2 separate regions of the Homo sapiens genome follow, and region 2 is linked to region 1. Evidence: promoter capture Hi-C in human tissues and cell types (Jung and others, 2019). All regions are on one chromosome and are shown on one strand. Each heading gives the region's core, a stretch centred on a gene start or on the middle of the fragment in contact. The rest is flanking DNA. Distances are from core to core; before and after follow the strand shown. Region 1 holds the start of ADNP2 (ADNP homeobox 2). Region 2 overlaps PARD6G (par-6 family cell polarity regulator gamma).

What was found. The method cuts DNA at HindIII sites, captures the fragments that hold promoters and counts their contacts. A contact is called where the count stands out against the background at its distance.
Region 2: a contact is called between a fragment that was not itself captured here and the fragment with the promoter of ADNP2 in region 1, in 2 of the 25 tissues and cell types used here (hippocampus and mesenchymal stem cells).

The regions. Positions count from the first base shown.
Region 1 is chr18:80,107,016-80,112,215 of GRCh38, forward strand. ADNP2 (ADNP homeobox 2) reads left to right here and starts at 2,247. Exons shown (of 4, transcript NM_014913.4): 1 at 2,247-2,457. RefSeq lists enhancers at 670-1,171, 1,998-2,499 and silencers at 2,309-2,468, 2,669-2,768. The HindIII fragment of the contact is 8,526 bases long and covers 1-4,546 here.
Region 2 is chr18:80,221,633-80,226,832 of GRCh38, forward strand. The region is part of intron 1 of PARD6G (par-6 family cell polarity regulator gamma); the gene reads right to left. Among named protein-coding and RNA genes, the nearest start is that of PARD6G, 23 kb to the right of the region's middle. The HindIII fragment of the contact is 7,222 bases long and covers 1-5,200 here.

The sequences.
Region 1 (5,200 bases), core at 997-3,496:
GTTGAGGAGAGAATGATGGGCTCAGATTTGAACGTTTTGAATCTGAGTTGCCTGTGGGACTCTGAAGTGGAGCTGCCCCCTTTGGCAGCCAGAAAAATAAAACTGAAACGTAGGAAAGAGATGGAGATACTGGTTTGGAATTGACATAACAAGGTTTGAATCTGTGGTCGAAATTAACAAGGGAGAAAATGCAGAAAAAAATGAAAGGCGTGGGAGTTCCAATACCCAGCACGGTGCCTGGCACACAGGAAGCGAGTGGCGCATATGTGCTGCACCGTGAAGGAAAAAGTCAGCAGGATCCCAGAGAACACCGCGTTCAAGGATGGGCCGGGAAGAGATGCAGGCGAAGATGAGGAAACAGTTCGTGAATATGGAGATGAAAGAGCCCGTCTGGGGAGTAGTGGGTGTGGGGGGGGGCGGCTTTGTGGGGGGAGGTCTGTAGATTAGGAAACAGTTCCCGAGTTTGGAGATTAAAGAGCCCGTTTGAGGAGTAGTGGTGGTGGGGCGGCTTTGTTGCGGGAGGTCTGTAGGAAAGGGGGATTGGTCTGTAGTAACAAATGGAAGATAGATACAGAAAGACGAGGCCTAAAATCTGTTTTGGGCTCAGCAATTAGGAGGGCGCTGGTGACCAAGGCGTTTCTGCAGAGTGGTGAGGGTGGGGGCGAGAGGCGTGCAGGGGGCTGAGGAGACAGACACAGGGACTGCTGTTTTGAGAAATGTGATAAAATGAGAGGTCACTAGAGGATCAATGGGAGACTGCAGGCTTTAACTACACTTTTCATCCCACCCATAATTTTGCAAGGAAGATATATAGGGACATCACACCCATTTACCACTGTAACTCAAAGTAAAATCTTAACTTGTCAGCAAACATAAAGGGCAAACTCTACTTCAATTATGACTTGTATTCATGTAGGAAAAAAGCAAATTTTGGTCAGGTCATATCGGCCCACCATTTAACACAGTTTTAAAACGAATATGGACATTAATTTAGTGCCTATTATGTGTTTAGTCACTGGGCTAAACTGAGCAGAAGGCTCCCATTGAGAGGGAAAAGCTGAAATTATGGACGAGCGGATGGTGACAAGGAGGCTCTGGAGAGGGCGGTGGGCGGAAGGCCCAGCCTGGGCACGGCCTCTGCCCCGCGGTGGCTGGAGTGGGCCTCAGGGCTGGAGGCTGGCGGCGGGTTGCAGGGGCTCGGCGCTCTGGAAGGAGACGTGGCCTTGTGCTGAAAGGGGCACGTGTCCTGCAGACGGCTTCGCCAAGAAGGAACTGCCTGGAACAGCCACTGAGGGCGCGGCTGAGTTAGGGTCAGGGGAAGGAACACTGGAGGGGAGTTAGGGTCAGAGTCAGGGTTAGTGCTAGGTGAGGTTCAGGTGCAGGGTCAGAATTAGGGTTAAGGTTAGGGGCACTGGGGGAGGCGCCTGCGCTGCCCTCGTGGTTACTCCCACGTGCTCTGGGGCACGAGGGCGTCCGCCAGAGGCCTGGGGACTCCACGGAACGAAGACCTAGAGCCATTTTGAAAGCCCTACGCCATGTTTCCACTAATTTTGTGGAATAAATTATTATTGCTACACAATTGATAAACACCTGTGCAAAAATGAACTTTTAGGTTAAGAGTTTATACAAATGTATGCAATTAACCCTCTCCCCACACAACTTGTAGTAGATCTAAAAATCAGAATTCTCAAGAGAAGGTGTGATCACTTTCCCACAGGAATGATGAAGTCAGGAGACCCCAGCTAGTCGGTTCACCAGGATATGCCAATCATGGCACACTTGTCCCAGTTCTGGGAGCCAAAGTTTTGTCTTCCAATGGCAAGGCAGCATTATCACAGTTGGGCTCCCATTGGCTCTGAGATGTGGGCGGGGTCACCACTCCTGGAGCTGCCACTAGCTCCACCCCATTCCATGCAAATGAAGTCAAAGCTGTGGTGAGTCCACGTGATTAGTCACATGGTTGATGACACACTCTCCCCACCCCTTTAGTGACGTCATTGCCCACTCAAACTCTCACGAGAGTTTGCACAGATGTGGAAAGGAGCTGGCAGGGCAGTTCCCTGGGACAGAAGGGAGTCAGGGGGTCCAACAGGGGCCCCCCACTGCCACCCCAGAGCCTCCAGTCCATCTTTAGCCAGGGGCCCCGGGGGGCCTGTGGGAAGTGCCAGGGGCCCCCAAGCACACTCTGCTCTCATTGGCTGGCTGCGCCTACATGCAAATGAGGGCCAACGTCACTTCCTGAGGCCAATCGAGCGCCATTTTCTCTTTCTGGCTGCGCGGGAGGAGGGGACCAGTCGCGCTGGGGGTGGGCGCGCGCTGAGGCGGGGGTCCCGCCGCGCGGGGCGGAGGCGCGGGCGGGCGCAGGCGGCCCCACGGGACGCGGCTGCGCTCGGCGGAAGACGCGGCAGCCCTGCGAGAGGCAGCAGCGGAGACGCGGTGCTCCTCGGGCGCCAAGCGGTAGGTACGGCCCGGCCCGGCGCGGGCCCGCGCGGCGACGCCCCCTGCCCCGGTCCTGGCCCCCGCCCCAGTCTGGTCCCCTCCGAGCCCCGCCCCCGCCGGTACCCAGCCCACACCCACGCCCGCCGCCTGCCCTCGCGCCGCCCGTGGCCGCCTCGGGAATCCCGGGACGTTCTCAGGGCGCGGGTTCGCGGCCCGAACGGCGCCCGTCGACCCCCGACGCGCCCGCGGCCCGCCCCGCCCGCCGCCGGTCACGTGGGAGCGGGGGCCGCCCCGGGAGGGCGGAGAAGGGGATGGGGACCTGAGGGGAGAGTAGGAATAGGGGAAAGACGAGGACGGGGACCGAGGGAGAGAGGGGGGCTGGTGAAGGGAGCGAGGAGTAGAGGGAGAGGGAACGGGGATGGAGAAGAAGAGAGGGGGCAAGGAGCTGTGGCGACCCCTGTAAGGACTCCAGAAACGCCCCGCCCGCTGGCCCGCCCGCCGCATCCCCGAGACCGGGTTCTCCTGGAAGCTTCTCTCTGGAGGAGCCTTGAGTGACGGCAGATGTAGGTCAGGAGCTGACGGTGACACCTAAATCTGCCCAGGTTTTTTTTTCCCTAGAAAGGTTTGAAGAACAGCTGATAACGGGGCCCTGTTTCTTCATCGTTGAGCTTTTGATGCGAATATCAATAATTGATATACAGATGTTGACTTTAACATTACTTTTCATCTGCCGTTGCTGGTTGCATTGAAATAGATTCCGTTTACAAAATTTCTACTACAGTTGACTTTGGAATGTTAATTTTAACTGCCCTTTTAAATACTGTACAGATGCAGAATGAGAAATAATTAGATATTTTAAGTAGTTTATTTGAACAGAAGACTTGCCTGCGTGCTTAAAACTTACTCTATTTGCACGGGTAATCACTGCCTCTTGGGATCTTGAGGAATATACTGGCTGTGGAGGAGTGGGGTGGGGGAGGAGAAACTGGTAAGCAGGTAACTGACAATGCAGATTGGCAAGTGGGGCAGCAGTTTGTAGAGTACTGTGGGCATCTGCCACGCAGAGCCTTTATCAAAAGAGGGGGTTTGGAGTCTGGGTACCATTTTTGGGGGTGAGGAGCATTAGTGGGAGAGAGGACCACATGTAAAAAGAGTTGTGTAAAGTACATGTTCAGCTGTATTTGGAAGTCGGTAATGTATGTGTAACTTATTTAAAGATGTTCTTGGAGAGTTGGCCATGTATGAGTGTGTATTAATATTTCGGTTAAATTTCGGTTGGAGTTAGGACTTCACTGCGAAGACAGCATTGAGCCCGTCGTCCTTAAACATGAAGTGACAGATGTGTGTTAAGAAAGGAAGTACAAGAGTGAAGATGAGACAAGAGGTTGTCCTACCGGCCCTCTAGTTGAGGGGAGGAACAGTGAGGGTTAGGACATGTCTGAAAGGAGTTGATCACTGTTTATGGGGGAAGATGACAGCTATGCTAAGATTTTTAGCTGAAGAGATTCTGGGATTTGGGAGACACGTTTTTAATTTGAACCCAAGTTTGCAATATGCTGTTGGTTAATTTATGATTGCCCTCATAAGTTCACCAATAGCATATTGCAAACTTGGTTTCTGCCCTGCCCTTCATCCTCTGGCTATCCTAGACCTGTTAGGGCAATGTGTTACATAGGTGGAAACCGGTATCTCCCAGTGATTTGAACCCAGATCTGCTGAATATATGATCCAAGTATTCTGTGTTTTTAAAGTTGCTTTTTAAAAAGTCCTGTATTCCAATAGTTGGGACATTTCATTTAGTTTTTTGGAGTTAATTAATAGCAAACTCAGTGCTTATGTGCTGTTTTGCATGTATTAACTCATTTATCCTCATAACTACTCTGTGAATTAGGTCATACTCGCCCTGTTTTACAGAAGAGCCAGCTGAGGCCTGGAGAGAGTAAGTGATTTCCTGAAGATTACACAGCTCATAAATGGTGGAGCTGATGTAAACCCGGGCACACAACTCCAGAATCCTTTTTGGTGACCATCGTTTTGTGCGATTTCACAGGAACTAAAAAAAAGTTCTGTGGCTTAAAAAGTATTGTTTATTACTGTATTACCTGAATGACATTTTTTTTTTTTTTTTTTGAGACGGAGTTTTGCCCTGTCGCCCAGGCTGGAGTGCAGTGGTGTGATCTCGGCTCACTGCAACCTCTGTCTCCCGGGTTCAAGCGATTCTCCTGCCTCAGCGTCCCGAGTAGGACCCAGCCAATTTTTTGGTAATTTTTAGTAGAGACAGGGTTTCACCATATTGGTCAGGCTGGTCTCCAACTCCTGACCTCAGGTGATCTGCCCGCCTTAGCCTTCCAAAGTGCTGGGATTACAGGTGTGAGCCGTTGCACCCGGCCAACATTTTCTTTTAGAATGTATTTTTTTTTCTATAATAGAATATCCTTACGAGATCATTATACTAAAAAATCCCCAGAGAAGTCCTTTATGTACCCTTTTGGGAAATAATATTTTCTTGTGCATATCAGTGGAATTTTATGGTAGTTCCATGCCTACCCTAAACATTAGGAATTGAGATTTATTTTGAATTGAAATTGATAGGTTGGTGCATGATGTGGAAATAGTTGGCCGCCCCGGTTAGCCTGCTGTTTTCTAATGGTGAAAATACAGATTTTACTGAGCTCTAAGATTCTATGGAGAACAGTATCTATAGAGGATCTATAAATATGAAAACATTGAACTATTTCATAGTTAATTCATCCACTGGGCA
Region 2 (5,200 bases), core at 1,195-3,694, 110 kb after region 1:
GATCAACAACAAAACAAGAATGTCTACTTTCACATCATCTATTTAACACTGTACTGTAGTTTCGACCCAGGAAAGGCAAGAAAATAAAAGACATCAGATTGGAATGGAAGAAGTTAAAATATCTCTATTCACAGATGATATGCATTTGTATATAGAAAATCCTAAGGAATCCATAAACAAAACCTTATTAGAGTTAATAAATGAATTCAGCATGATTTTAGTATACAATATCCACATACAAAAATAAACTGTATTTCTAAGCAGTAGCAATGAACAATCTAAAAATTAAGAAAATTCCATTAACAATAGCATTACAAAGGATAAAACAGGAATAAACAAAATAAGTGAAAGATTTATACATTGAAAACTACAGAATATTGTTGAAAAAATAAAGAAGATCTAAATTAATGGAAAGACATTTCATGCTCATGGATTAGAAAACTTAATTTTTTTCTTTTTTCTTTTTTTTTTAAATGAAGTCTTGCTCTGTCACCCAGGCTGGAGTGCAGTGGTGCAATCACAGCTCACTGCAGCCTCAACCTCCTGGGCTCAAGTGATCTTCCTGCATCAGCCTGCCAAGTAGCTGGAACTACAGGCATGCGCCGCCACACCTGGCTAATTTTTTTTTTTAATTTTGTAGAGATGGAGTCATTCCTATGTTACCCAGGCTGGTCTCGAACTCCTAGGCTCAAGTGATCCTTCTGCCTTGGCCTCCCAAAGTGTTGGGACTATAAGCATGAGCCATGGCACCCAGCCGGAAGACTTAATATTGTTAAGACAGCAATACTCCCCAAATTGATCTACAGATTCAATACAACCCCATCAGAATCTTAGCTGTATCTTCTGTAGTAGTCAGCAAGCTGATCCTAAATTCAAAGGTCTCACTATATCCAGAAGAATCTTGAAAACGAAAAACATAGTTGAAGAACTCACACTTCCCAATTTCAAAACTTACACATAGTACTAACATAGAGACGTATAAACGACCAGGGGAACCGAATTGAGAGTACAGAAAAAAACCTTACATTTGTCATCAATTTATTTATTTATTCATTTTTTAAGACAGGGTCTTGCTCTGTCACCTAGGCTAGAGTGCAGTGGCATGATCTTGGCTCACTAAAACGTCCATCTCCTGGGCTCAAGCAATCCTCTCACCTTAGCCTCCCAAGTAGCTGGGACTACAGGTGCACGCCACCACATCTGGCTAATTTTTGTATTTTTTTTGTAGAGACAGTGTTTCACCATATTGCCCAGGCTGGTCTTGAGCTCCTGGACTCAAGCAATCCACCTGCCTCAGCCTCCCAAAGTGCTGGGATTACAGGCATGGGCTACTGCAGCTGGTAATCAATTTATTTTTGACAAGAATGTTAAGACAATTCAATGAGGAAAAAACAGTCTTTTCAACAAATGGTGCTGGGACAACTGCATATCCACATGCAAAACAATAAAGCTGGACCTCTACCTCATGCCATATATAAAAAGTAACTCAAATTGGATTACAGACTAAATGTGAGCTAAAATTATAAAACTATTAGACAAATACATAGAATTAAATTATCATTACTGGAGTTAGGCAATAATTTCTTAAATATGATGCCAAAAGCAGAAACCACAAAAGAAAAAAAAGATAAACTGGACTTCATTAAACTTAAAAACCTTTGTGCTTCAAGGAACATCATGAAGAAAGTGAAAAGGTAATCTATAGAATGACAGAAAATATTTGCAAATCAGATCTCTGATAAGGGACTTGTGCCTCTGATAAGGCATATTAAAAGAAAACTCTTAAAACTCTATAATAAAAGACAACCCCATTAAAAATGGTCAAATAACTTTAATAGACATTCCCCAAAAAAGATACACAGATGACCAAAAAATCAAAAGCATAGGAGTCACTACCTCGGACTCACCAGGTTGGCTGTAATAAAAAAGATAACATGCTGATAAGAACGTGTGGGAATCTTAACCCTCACACATTTTTGTTAGGAATGTAAAACGGTGCAAATGATTTTGTAAACAGTCTGGGAGTTCTTCAAAATGTTGAGTTACCATGTGACCCAGAAATTGAAGGCTAACTAGAAGCCATGTTCAGAAACATGACAACCCCGAGGACGGCACCAGCAGGCACTCAGTGGAGACTCTGCTTTTGCTCCAGGCAAACAGGATGTTCCAAGGGACCAAGGGAGGCCAGCATCTGCTGTAAGCACACAACCCATTTAGAAGATGAAGAGTTAAGAACTCAGGGAAGGCTCATGCCTCATCACTGCTGGGCCTTACAGAGGAGGCACAGGATATGAGGTTTGGTCCAACCCAGCTGGCAGGGCTGGCTTTTCCAGTTAAAATGGACCCAACAGTGTTGGCTGGGTAAGGAGGACAGAGGGCAGGCACTCCGAACAGGGTAGAACTTGCCTTCCCTCACATGCCTGTCTCCACCCTGACCCCAAACTACAAAAGTCCTCAGTCCTCCTTCTCTAATTCAGAAACCAAAACTGTATATGAATGATATTTCTGGAGTCACAGGGCTCTGGCAATATAAACCTATTTTCATTATTCAACTTCTATACTGAAGGATAACTCATCACCATTAACACGATTATGTCTTACCTTCCAGGTTAAAAGATATTACAAACATAAAATTTTCTTGATACCTAAGAGGTCTATCTAAATTTACCATACGTTTAAACAAATCAGAGCATGAATGACTCTAGAAGGTATGAAAGTCTTTTTCTGTCTAAAACAAAAATCCAAAATCCTTTTGGCCTGCCTGACTGCCTGGGCCCTGATTCAGTATGTTCTGGACAAACCTCCTCATCATGTGAGGTTCTCTCACTGTCGGCACAAACAGGGCTCATGTTTGGTGTGTGCTTCAAAGCTGGATATCTGTCTTCATGCCCTGAATTAAATCATAAGCTTCCCAATTGAAAGTGACCGTCCAAGGCCGGGTGCGGTGGCTCACGCCTGTAATCCCAGCACTTTGAGAGGCCGAGGCGGGCGGATCACGAGGTCAGCAGTTCAAGACCAACCTGGCTAACACGGTGAAACCCCATCTCTACTAAAAATACAAAAAATTAGCCGGGCGTGATGGCGGGCGCCTGTAGTCCCAGCTACTTGGGAGGCTGAGGCAGGAGAATGGCGTGAACCTGGGAGGCGGAGGTTGCAGTGAGCCGAGATCGCGCCACTGCTCTCCAGCCTGGTCGACAGAGTGAGACTCCGTTTCAAAAAAAAAAGAAAGTGACAGTCCAAGCCCCTGCACTGAAGGCTCAGAGAGGGTGAAAGACTTGCCCAAAAGCTACAGAGAAACTTGATTCCAGGCTGGAACTAAGACCCTCATTTCCTGACTCTGGCCCAGTGCTCCAACTGTGTAGGCATTCTTCTTACCACTGAAAACATAGTCCCCTGCTGGTTTCATCTTAAACTCAGTCAGCTACTAGTGACTAAAAAACTTTAGGATGTCACGCTTTTGCTGATCAAAGTGCAGCTCTGGCTCAGAACCATCCCCAAGGAACTGCGGCACCGTTTCTCAGTCTACGCACGAAGCAGCCATCACCGCATGTTGGACTCATGTCTGCTTTTCCTTTACAAAGGGTCCAAAATAATGAAGAGGAGAATTTTAACAGTATTTTCTTGTCACCTAGGTCCTTTCACACTAGGGAGGACCCTTAGGGCCTGGACCCACGTGCTGTTCTTCAACAAACCAAAGGGAGGGAAGCTCCTGGCCATTTCCATCACTCATGCAAAGGCCCATTGCCATGTTAAAGTTCTCATAGCTGCTTGGGGCATGAGATGCACATACATGATTTTTAATCTTTAAGCCACTTGGGAGATGTAGCATCCCCTTTATAGAGGCAGACAACTGAATGTCCCCTTCACAGTTATCCTGCTCACTCTCTGCCACAGTGCTGGCTCGATTCCCTCCCAGCTCACCTCCCCCTTCAGGCTGGTTTTCACAAAAAAGCAAAATTAAACTTGAAGGGCAAATGTTTCTGACACTGCATTTCTATTGTCCTTTGTCATTTCCTCAAAATACTCTTGCTGTTTTTTAAAAGCATTCTTTTTCTCTTTTGCACCCAAATCAAGACAGTGTTGCCTGAAGTAGTTGGAGAAGCGTGGGAAAGTAGCCATCCTGGGGAAACCAGCAAGTTTCAATGTAGATGCCCCCTCCCACATGTACAACACATACAAAGAGGAAAGTCCAGGTCTAGTGTGACACCCAAGGTGCTGCCAGAGGACAAGGAGATCAGAGCACACCTAGTCATCTCTGGGCCGGCTCACGAGGGCCCCACACACGGATGTCTAACTCTGCACATCACCCCACCACAAAGAAAACCACTGTAATGTGTAGGAAGACATTCTTCCAGGCTTCTTTAACATGTATGGTTTTTAAAAATTAGGATCATACACTGTTATATTTTTCTTTATGGTTTGAATAGGGCTATATAACCACATAGCTCAATATTCAAAAGGTATTTAGTGAAATCTCCAGCTACCCAGCCCCCTCCCCACAGGTAACCAATGACTTCAGTTTTTTTTTTTTTTTTTTTTTTTTTTTTTTTTTTTTAGACGGAGTTTCTCTCTTTGTTGCGCAGGCTGGAGTGCAATAGTGTGATCTTGGCTCACCGCAACCTCCGCCTCCTGGGTTCAGGCGATTCTCCTGCCTCAGCCTCCTGAGTAGCTGGGATTACAGGCATGTACCACCACGCCCAGCTAATTTTGCATTTTTAGTAGAGACGGGGGTTCCTCCATGTTGGTCAGGCTGGTCTCGAACTCCCGACCTCAGGTGATCCGCCTGCCTTGGCCTCCCAAAGGGCTGGGATTACAGGCTTGAGACTTAGCTTTTAATGTGCCCTTCTAGAGATATCTTATGCATACGAAAGCAAACAAATGTGAATTGTCTCTATCTTCCCTCTTTTCTAAACAATGGTAGCACACTACCAACACCGGTCTACTTCATGCTTTTTTCACTTAATTGTATATTTTGAAAACAGTCTTTTGCTGGATGTTCCTAGTTCTACTGGGGCAGTACCCCTGATTCACAGATGACCCTGAACCGGAGAAAGATTACATCTGTTAATTATAATGTGCCCCCAGAGATGTGACAGACTGTTGTCACACTGGCCAGCAAAGAACCAGGCTGAAGACCCAGGCATTAATTTATCAGTCAAAATTTGCTGAGGAGCAGGTCACCTCCCAGACCCCAAGCAGC